2 separate regions of the Homo sapiens genome follow, and region 1 is linked to region 2. Evidence: promoter capture Hi-C in 16 types of primary human blood cells and fetal thymus (Javierre and others, 2016). All regions are on one chromosome and are shown on one strand. The core of a region is centred on a gene start or on the middle of the fragment in contact, and the rest is flanking DNA. Distances in the headings are between cores, read along the strand shown.

Region 1 (5,020 bases), core at 551-3,050, 1.1 Mb after region 2:
TACACTTTAAAAGGCCAGGCGCGGTGCCCACACCTGTAATCCCAGTACTTTCAGAGACCGAGGCAAGCGGATCACTTGAGGTCAGGAGTTCAAGACCAGCCTGGCCAACATGGTGAAACTCTCTCTCTACTAAGAATATAAAAATTAGCCAGGCATGGTGGCAGGCGCCTGTGATCCCAGCTACTCGGGAGGCTGAGGCTGTAAAATCCCTTTAACCCTAGAGGTGCAGGCTGCAGTGAGCAGAGATCGGGCCACTGTACTTGTAGCCTGGTCAACGAGGGAGACTCTGTCTCAAAAAAAACAGAAAAGGAAAATGAGGATAAAATACGATAAATTCTTTACCTTGGCCCCCAGAAGTGAATTCAGAATTCAGAAAAGACTAGCCAGTGTAAGGCTGCTGTAACCCTAGTTGACAGAGAGGAGGGATTGGGGTGGTGAGTGGGAAGGCTGTGTCTCCGGAAGAAGAAATATACGTCCCCACCTCACTCTAATTAAACCTGCTTTTCCAGCGCGATAAATATTCAAGATAACTTTTGGTTTGCATTTCAATAACAAAGTCTTGCACCACTATCTTCAGTTTAAAAAAAAAGTTTAATGTTTGCTCTACGTTTGAAATGCATGCAGGTTTAAAAGACAAGAAACAAAATGATGAAAAAGTGTGACCGGCCTGAGAGTTCAGAGCCTCTGAAGTGTCAAGGGATCCACAGTGCAGGTAGGATGAAGAGTCTGAGAAGGGAGATGGGATCCTCCGAAAAGAGAAAATCGGGTCTTACAGCGCGATGTAAGACGATGCGGATGCCACTTCCCTCCCACCCCGTCCCGTCCGAGGCCTCCGCCCCCTGCCCCTCCGCACCCCCCGACCCAGGCACGCGCAGCGGGGAGCAGCCCAGCCTAGCCCGTCTCACTGCTTTGGTTTTGAAAGGTCACGTATTTACCTTAGAATTTCAGCACCTTCCAACTTACTGTTTTAAGTACCTTTAACCAGCCTATTGGCTAAAAACCGAAACGGTCCTACCCGCGACTACCACTGCTCCAGTGACAATGCTCTGCTGCTACTTATTTAACGGAGCTCAAGGTTTATAATTCTCGAAAGAATGTTGTTCCCCTTCCCTTTCCCCTCCCGCCTCTGTACTTGACTCTCGTAAGAATGAAATCAGAAAAGTGCAGAAAACACAGGCTCCTAGCAATGGTTCGGGGCAAACGGGAGGGGCGAAGAAGGGCTGGAGCCGCCCCGGGGCCCTCGCTCCGGCCTCGGGAGGGCGTCGCGGCCGCAGCAGGGCGTCCCGAAAACCGTCGCCTCCGTGCCCGCCGCGCGAGAAGGTGAAAGGCACGAGATGGAGCCTCTCCAGCCCTCCCCAGGAACGCAACCTGACGGCGTGACAGCGCGGCAGGGCAGCCTCCCCGGGCTGCTTGCGGGTCGCGGCGGCGCCACGGTCACGGTCGGCCCGAAGGGACGCGGGCAGGGGCAAGAAGGGGCGGCGGGGGCTCCGCGGGCCCGAGTCTGCAGGCCGGCGCCGAACGCAGGGAAAACCCGGCTGGACGGCCCCACAGCCCCCAGAAGGCCGGGCCGGACAGGGCCCGACGAGGGAGCCTCCTTACGCGCGGGCGGCGGGCGCGAGCCCTCTACGGTTGCCTGGCGCCGGAGACCCACAGACAGGACTCACCCAGCTTCCTCAAACGCCCACGCCGACTTCAGGCGCGCGCGCAGGAAGGAGACTGCTGCGCCACAACCCTGCCGGCGTCCCGCGGCTCCACCTCAGCCCCGGGAGCCCGGAGCTGGGAGCAGACGCGAGGATAGAGCGCCGGTGAGGCGGGGCGAGGCGCCGTGTGCACCGCAGCGACCAATCGGAGCGCAGCAAGTGGCCGGCCGGGGGCGGGGCGGGACGCGAGGGGGCGGGGAGAGGGCGTTGGCTGGGCGCAGCGGGACGCCGGGCGCTCCTCGCGACCAATCGGCGTGCAGCAAGTGGCCGGCCGGGGGCAGGGCGAGCTCCGAGGGACGGGGTGGGCTGCTCTGCAGGCCTCCCGGAGCCGGAGTTCAGACCCAGCTATCTACGGTTCCGGGCAGAGCGGGACGGGCCTCTCCTGTCCCCTGCCGGTGGGCGGCCGCCGCCGGGCTCCCACTGCTGCGTTTCTGCACGCTGACTTGAAGTGCAGTACCGTGAGATTACGTGCGGACGGAGCTCGAGACCCGGGGGACCAGGGTTTCCCTTCGCCTATGGCCGATCAGTCTTGTCTGTCTGCGAGCTGCCCAGAGTAGGGAAGGTGCTCCGGGAGGGTTCTCGGGAACGGAGGGTCTTTAGAGATGCCTTTTTCTAATCCCCTCAATTCAGAAATGGAGCCCCAGAAAGTTGAAGTTAGTAAACCAGGGCTACCCAGCGAGTGCTGGTTACCCGAGGTGATCCTCACAATACAACTAGTCTTCTGATTTCGCTCGGCGCTCTCCCGTCTATTCACGTAGATTTTTGTCTTTTTTTTTTTTTTTCGTCTTTCTTATAGTCAGATATCTTTCAGCCTCTTGGATTTTCAACATAACTTTAACAGCGTTTGGAAGCCCCGTCTAAATTTCCTACAGAAATGCCTATAACCATTTAGTTGTTTGGGGGAAAGTCGAGCTTTGTTTTTTGGGTGGTTTGTTTGTTTGTTTTGAGACAGGGTCTTGCTCTGTTGTCCAGGGTGGAGTGCAGTGGTGTGATCTTGGCTCACTGCAGCCTCTTACCTCCCACGCTCAATCAATCCTCCCACCTCAGCCTTCCGAGTAGCTGGGATTACAGGTGCGCACCACCATGCTTGGCTAATTTGTGTATTTTTAGTAGAGACGGGATTTCACCTGGCTGATCCTGAACTCCTGACCTCAGGTGATCCACCCGCCTCTGCCTCCCAAAATGCTGGGATTACAAGCGTGGGCCACTGTGCCCAGCCAAGTAGAGTTATTATCAGTGGAAATCTAAAAAGCATTTTACTTGAGGCATAATGAAGTAAAAGGTTTTGTATCATGGAATTATCACCAAAAATGCCATCCTGGATAATGTTCTCCTATAGCTCTTATACATGGGCTAGGATCTAGGTGTTCAATAAATATGTGCTGAATAATTTACTTTTGAAATATGTCACAATGCTGGCATTCCACCAGAAGAGAGGATACAGAAGGGAACACTCTCCTCTCTTTAAGAACCTTTTGAAAGGGGCGGGGGTTGCATGTACCATTTTTGTTTTCATTCTGCTAGTAAAATAGTCACTTGACTACACCAAATTGCAAAGAAGGCTGGAAAATGGGGTTTCAGTACTAAGGAAGGAAAACTAGATATTAGGGGACAATTAGAAGTTTCCAAATCTCATCACTTTTTTTGGGGGGGTGGGGGAGGCATCCCAAAGGGCAGACTGGTTTATTAGGCAGCAGCCAGGAAAATCAGCGGTTGGACTTGTCCCCACACTCCAGCTCATCCTTCTTGTTGATGGCATAGGAGCTGGAGGAGGCCTTGGTGGCATTGATGAGCTCATCCGCCAGGCACTCAGCAATGGTCTTGATGTTCCAGAAGGCAGCCTCACGAGTGCCTGTGCACAGCAGCCAGACGACCTGATTCACACAGTGCAGTGGGGACATGTCCACAGCCTGTTGTCTCACAGTCCCTGCTCGCCCAATGCATGTGGAGTCCTCCCAGGGACCACTGTTGATGATGGCGTTCACCAGGACCTGGAGAGGGTTCTCGCCTGTGAGCAGGTGGATGAAATCGAAGGCATGCTTGATGATGCACATGATCATGAGCTTGTTGCTGTTGTTGCAGCCGTGCATCATCATGGAGTTAGTGAGGGGCTCCACAATGGGGCACTGAGCTTTGCGGAAGCATTTGGCTGCATACCACCCAGCACTGTGAGGCAGGTACTTGGCATACTTCTCCTTCACTGCAGTGTAATCCTGCAGGGAAATGCCATTGATCTGCATATCATCAGTGCTCCACTTCCCAGAGAGCTTGATGTCAAGGGGTCTCTGCCACTGCTGGTGCTGCTGTCTCCCACTCGGTCATCCTGAGGGCACAGCCTGAGTGTCTCTGTCGATCAGCATGGACCACATGCTGCCCTGGCACAGACAGGCCATTGCTTTTTAAAGTACTAATATTTTAAGGTTTCCCAGGATTTTTTTAAGCTTTGTTACAGAATAATATCTGTAGAAAAATGATTACCTCCATATATGAAGGAAGACATTACTGTTCACCTACCGTTGGGATGCACATGCTTTAAGTTGCTTTTTTAGTAGTGGAGACTTATGTTAATGCAGCTTGTCTGAAGTCCTTTTCTACTGCTATAACAGAATAACACAGAACAGGCAATTTATAAACAATAGTGTTTTATTTGGTCCACAGTTCTGGAAGCCGGGAACTCCAAGAGCATGGTGCTGGCATCTTGTAAGGATTTTCATGCTGTGTCATCCCATGGTAGAAAACAAGACAGACAGGGGCCAACGAGCATACAAGACAGAAGGAGAAAATCAGGCTGACGCTATCCTTTTACCAAGAGCCCAATCCCAAGATAACTAACCCACTCCCACAATAACAGCATTAATCCATTCGTGAGGGTGGAGCCCTCATGACCCAATCACATCTTCAAGGTTCTACCTCTCAACACGATTACAATAGTAATTAAGTTTCAAACACATGAACTTTTTGGGGACACATTCAAACCATAGCACAATTTGCTTCTCTCAGTCTATAAACCTCTATTCCACAAAGAGTCAAACATGTATTTAGTTATGCTTTCAAAAATATGGGCATTTGGCCGAGCACAGTGCCTCACACCTGTAATCCCAGCACTTTGGGAACCAGAGGCGGTTGGATCACCTGAGGTCAGGAGTTCCAGATCAGCCTGGTCAACATGGTAAAATTCCGTCTCAACTAAAAAGAAAAAACAATTAGCTGGGCATGGTGATACATGCCTGTAATCCCAACTACTCAGGAGGCTGAGGCAGGAGAATCACTTGAATCCGAGAGGCAGAGGTTGCAGTGAGCCAAGATCACGCCACTGCACT
Region 2 (4,703 bases), core at 176-2,675:
TTCATCACTTTATCTCTACCGTAGCAAATAATAGCCTCTAGTAATACTTAATGAATTCGGAAATAAATAACTCTATGCTAACTAAGTATCATCTTCCTAGCTGTGACTAGCAAGTACAGGTATAGGTATCAAAGTTTAAAAACAGGCCAGGTGTGGTGGCTCATACCTATACTCCCAGCCCTTTGAGAAGACAAGGTGGGAAGATTGCTTGAGACTGGGAGTTCGAGGGCAGCCTGGACAACATAGTGAGATTCCATCTCTACAAAAAGTAAAAAAAAAAAAAAAAACATAGCTGGGCATGGTGTTGTGCACCTACAATCTCAGCTACTTGGGAGGCTGAGGTGGGAGGACAGCTTAAGCCCAGAAGTTCAAGGCTGCAGTGAGCTATGATAGTGCCACTGCACTTCAGCCTGGGCAACAGAGCAAGACCCTGTCGTTTAAAAAAAAAAATGAGGACAAAAATTGGAAGTTGAAGATATTTTGGCCATTAATTTAATCGTTTATTTAACCTGGGAGAAAAACTGCCACTGTTTTATTTTAGAGCAATGCTTCCACATGGCAACACGTTCAATTGCGTTTTTCCCAAACCATGTTACTTTCCAAACGATTACAAGTAGTCGCGAAGGGTGGTCACACTTTACAAAAAGTGTAATTAAATTATAGAGTCGGCTACATCTCAGTCACTGGCCCATTCCTGGTCAACTGACAAGTAGCTGTGGTGGCTTCTAGTAGCTTGTTACAAGTCATCAAGTCAGTATGAGTGTTGGGGGATGGAAGCTATTGAAAACGGTGCTGACGGCCCAAGGAGTAGCAAACTGTCTCATGAACCGTCCTGAGCCGACTCAGTAAGGACTCAATAGAGAAGGACACTTCATTTACTTCCCTGACAACTGCAATAAAGAGGTTTTAGAGCTCGCTGAGGGATGCTGCCTGGGCAAGGGAAATAAATGTGTTGTAACATGAAACGGTCCCAATCAAGCAAGTCGGGGCCCTCTCGCTGTCGCCGACAGTCCAGAGCAAGGAAGTACACAGCAGTCCTGAACCTCAGTTTTCTGCAAACCAGAGGCTTGCCACTGAGCCTATGTGACCCGAAAGCTGCAGAAAGGAGAGGCTGTGCCCGGCACACGGAGGCCGCCTCGCCAGCCTGTGCTCCCGACCCTGCGCCTGCCGCCCCGGACTCACCTGGCCCGGGGCCCTGCGGGTCCTTCAGCTGAGCCTTGAACCGCACGCCCGTGAGCTCTTCTTTGCGGGCGCGCTTGGCTGCACCCGCGGAGGAAGCCGCGCCGTCCTGGCCGCCCGAGGCCTTCCTCTTGGGGACCCCCATGGCCGAGAGGGCGGAAGCGCGACGGAAACGACACACCTGAGGGGACCCGGCAGGAGCACTGGCACAGACAGCAGACACGCGCTTCAGGCCCACATGGCGCAGGAAGAGGCGGGGCTGGCGGAAGAGGCGGGGCTGGCGGAAGAGGCGGGGCTCGGGGAAAGGCCGGCGGAAGGGGCCGACCCGCGCGAGGCTGGGACCGGCGGAAGGGGCGTGGCCTGCAGAAGGGGCGGGGCGATAGGGATCCAGAGTCTTGGGGATCCAGAGTCTTGGGGCTCCATGTGAGTTTGCTGTACCGGTTGTCCCGGTCACGGCATGGGGCGAGCGGACACTCCACGACACCCCCCGCCCCCGGCTGCAGGGTTTGGGGTCCACCGGGGCGCATTTCTGATCCCAGTGGCTCTTCGGGTGCTCTTGGCCGGAAGAACTCCCAGACCTTTCACTCCTGGCCTGGCCGATCCACGAAGACTCGGGCCCCGGCGCGTCCAAGCAGCACAATGAGTAGTTCTTGACCCGAGGTCGCCCTGAAGGTGTCGCATGAAGAGCTTGCTTCACACACAACAGGATTCGATACTTTGCCAATTCAAGGCCCTGGTGGCTGGCCGGGAAGGTGGATTCGCCTTGGCTAGGTGCCAGGCAGGTCCGCCTGTGCGGGTGCCCCTGACTTCGACCCCTAGCTTATGTCACAGCCCGAACCAGATCGACTGGTCTGGTAGCAGCCTGTCACTCCAGACTGTCCTCCACCCCAGACTTCCGCAAACTGATGGGCTCTTTGCGCCGTGCAGGGTGGGAGGAGAAGACCAAACGAAGTAACGTCTGTAAAACCCCTTCCTGGACAGCGTAAGGCCTCCACATCTAAGTTCCTGTCATTAAAATGGAGACAGCAAAGCCGACCCTATCCAGTCCTTGGGACTGTTATGAACAGAAAATGATGCAATGTATGAAAAACTGCTTTGAGGAGAAAAACAACACAGTGTGTTTTTGGAAGATGTGATTGATTTGTAAACCGCATTAAATGCTCTGAAATAAAATGAAAGTAAAAATAAGTAAAAACAGGCTGGTACATATTTTAATACGACTTCATCGATACTTAGGTATGTGTCCAAATAAATCATGAACCAGCGCATTAGATAAGTAACTTGGTGATTACTGAAATTCTCCATCAGGTTGTCCTCTAGTCTAAGAAAATTGTGTTTCATATTCTGTAAGCAGATGTGTTTTGAACATCTGAGGATGTGGGCTTTTGTGGCCTGTTGGGGTCTCAGAGTTTCTAGTAGAAAAAGCACGTGTGTTGACGCTGAGCCTCTGTCCCGACAAGATGATTGTGCCTGTGGAGATGTCTATGTTGTAGGCAGGTCAGAGAGAGGGTGTCACCCCTAGCAGATATGAGCTAATGCAGCAATGTTAAGAGAGGGGAATATGCTCAAAAAGTCATCTGTAAAAGGCAACACTCATTAGTGAATACAGACTTAATTCTGACTGATTATCCACACTGGTCCTCTTCTTTGGTTAATCGCTAACCACCAACTTTGTTTTCTGCCATGGTGGTCCCAACCAAAAAGTTATCAGAAAGAGTTAGGAAACAGTCAAAAGCCCTGAGTTCAGTTTCTGCCTGTGTGACCTTGGGCAAATTACCATCCCTCTGTGCTGGTTTGCTTTACAAACAATTAAAGAGCATGAGGAACTTCCCAGGATTATCCAGCTAGTAACTGGTGGAGCCAGGACTCACCCAGTGTATCCTAGTCCCAAATTAAAAACAAAGAAACAGAAGTTGGCAGTGCCCATTTACAGCCTTAGCCAGAGATGTATGGATGGCAAGTGTGGCTCAGAAGTGCATTTGGATGTTTTAGACTAAGTTAATGCCATGAATCATTGATGCTGGGTTAACCCTTTGTTCAGATATGAGGCTCACCAACCTCTGGATAGTGACTTGTCTTTCCATATCAAAGCTTTGTATTATTTGCCTCCAGGAGCATTCTGGTTTGTTGCAGACTATGTGGTACTGCTCCTAGGACATTCTAAGCTGAGGAAAAAAGCCCGAGAGCTTTTGTACTTGTTCCCTCTCTTTGAAACTCTTTGCCCAGAGCTCAAGTGGCTCAGATGTGGACTTTTCCTGTACATACCTCACTCTCTGTCTCCCGACCTTTCTTGATTGGGCCTACTTTATAAAGACACTCACTAATTACATCTGAGGGCTCCACCCTCATGAGCTAGTCACCTCACAAAAGGCCTCCCACAACCAAATATCACACTTGGGATGGGGTTTCAACATAATGAATTTGAGGGGGACACAAACGTTCAAACCATAGCACTTTCCCAACATGAAGATGATTTTTCAGTTAAGTTCTAACAATCTTTTCAGAAACAGATAATTCTCACCTTGTGCCGTTAGTTCCACAAAATAAAAAATAAAGTATCCCAACATCTTTTACGAGGCTCATATAACCTTAAATACAGAACAAGCTAAGGATAACACAAAGTATGAAAATGATGAACTTATTTCAAGTATGGATATAAATGTGTGTAAATAGAATATTAGTTAACTGAATACAAAACAGCACTTGAAAAAAACACAAGAAATACAAGGAAAGAATATCTTGCTTATATAACTCACCACAATAATGGATTAAAGGAGAAAAATCCGTTATTATTTCAATAGATGGAAAAAGACATTTGAAAAGATACCTATTTATGATTTTTAAAATTCACATAAAACTAGGGATAGAAGGACTTTCCTTAACTTGGTAAAGACTATATACCAAAAACCTGCAGCAATTATCATGCACAATGGGAAAACTATATGAACTTGAATTATGACTGGGAACAATAGGAAAAACAGGGATGTCCACCATGCTACTATCTATTACGAGAGGTCGTGGCTAGTGAAATAAGGCAAGACAAAGAAATAAGAAATGAAACTGTAATCTAATTGGAAAATTCAATAGAAATGCAAGCTAAATAAGAATTTAGCAAGGTTGTCAGACATAAAATCAGTTACCAAAATTGGTAGCATTACCTCTACATTAGCAATAGCTAATTTAAATATGTAGGAGAAGCTGGGTGTGGTGGCTCATGCCTGTAATCCTAGCGCTTTGGGAGACTAAGGTGGGAGGAGCACTTGAGCTCGGGAGCAACATAGTAGGACCTCGTCTCTACAAAAAAAAAAAAAAAATTTAAGTAGCTGGTGTGGTGGTGCATATCTGTAGTCCCAGCTAGTCAGGATGCCAAGGTGTGAGGATTGCTTGAGCCCAGAAGACCGAGCCTGCAGTGAGCCAGATTGCTCCACTGCACTCCAGCCAGGGCAACAGAGGGAGACCCTGTCTCAAAAAATAAAATAAATATAAAACAAAAATAAATAAATATGTGGTAGAAAACAAAGCAC

What was found. The method cuts DNA at HindIII sites, captures the fragments that hold promoters and counts their contacts. A CHiCAGO score of 5 or more calls a contact.
Region 1: the fragment with the promoter of TMEM50B here is called in contact with the fragment with the promoter of URB1 in region 2 in 9 of 17 cell types (naive CD8 T cells, non-activated CD4 T cells, total CD8 T cells and 6 more); the score reaches 15.9 in naive CD8 T cells.

The regions. Positions count from the first base shown.
Region 1 is chr21:33,478,174-33,483,193 of GRCh38, forward strand. It overlaps TMEM50B (transmembrane protein 50B), which reads right to left and starts at 1,801. Exons shown (of 7, transcript NM_006134.7): 1 at 1,665-1,801. It also overlaps the pseudogene RPS5P3. The HindIII fragment of the contact is 5,416 bases long and covers 1-4,139 here.
Region 2 is chr21:32,391,587-32,396,289 of GRCh38, forward strand. URB1 (URB1 ribosome biogenesis factor) reads right to left here and starts at 1,426. Exons shown (of 39, transcript NM_014825.3): 1 at 1,183-1,426. The coding sequence starts at 1,324. It overlaps URB1-AS1 (URB1 antisense RNA 1 (head to head)), which reads left to right and starts at 1,547. Exons shown (of 1, transcript NR_026845.1): 1 at 1,547-2,374. RefSeq lists enhancers at 692-1,474, 1,334-1,628, 1,475-2,256, 1,779-2,028. The HindIII fragment of the contact is 11,778 bases long and covers 1-3,268 here.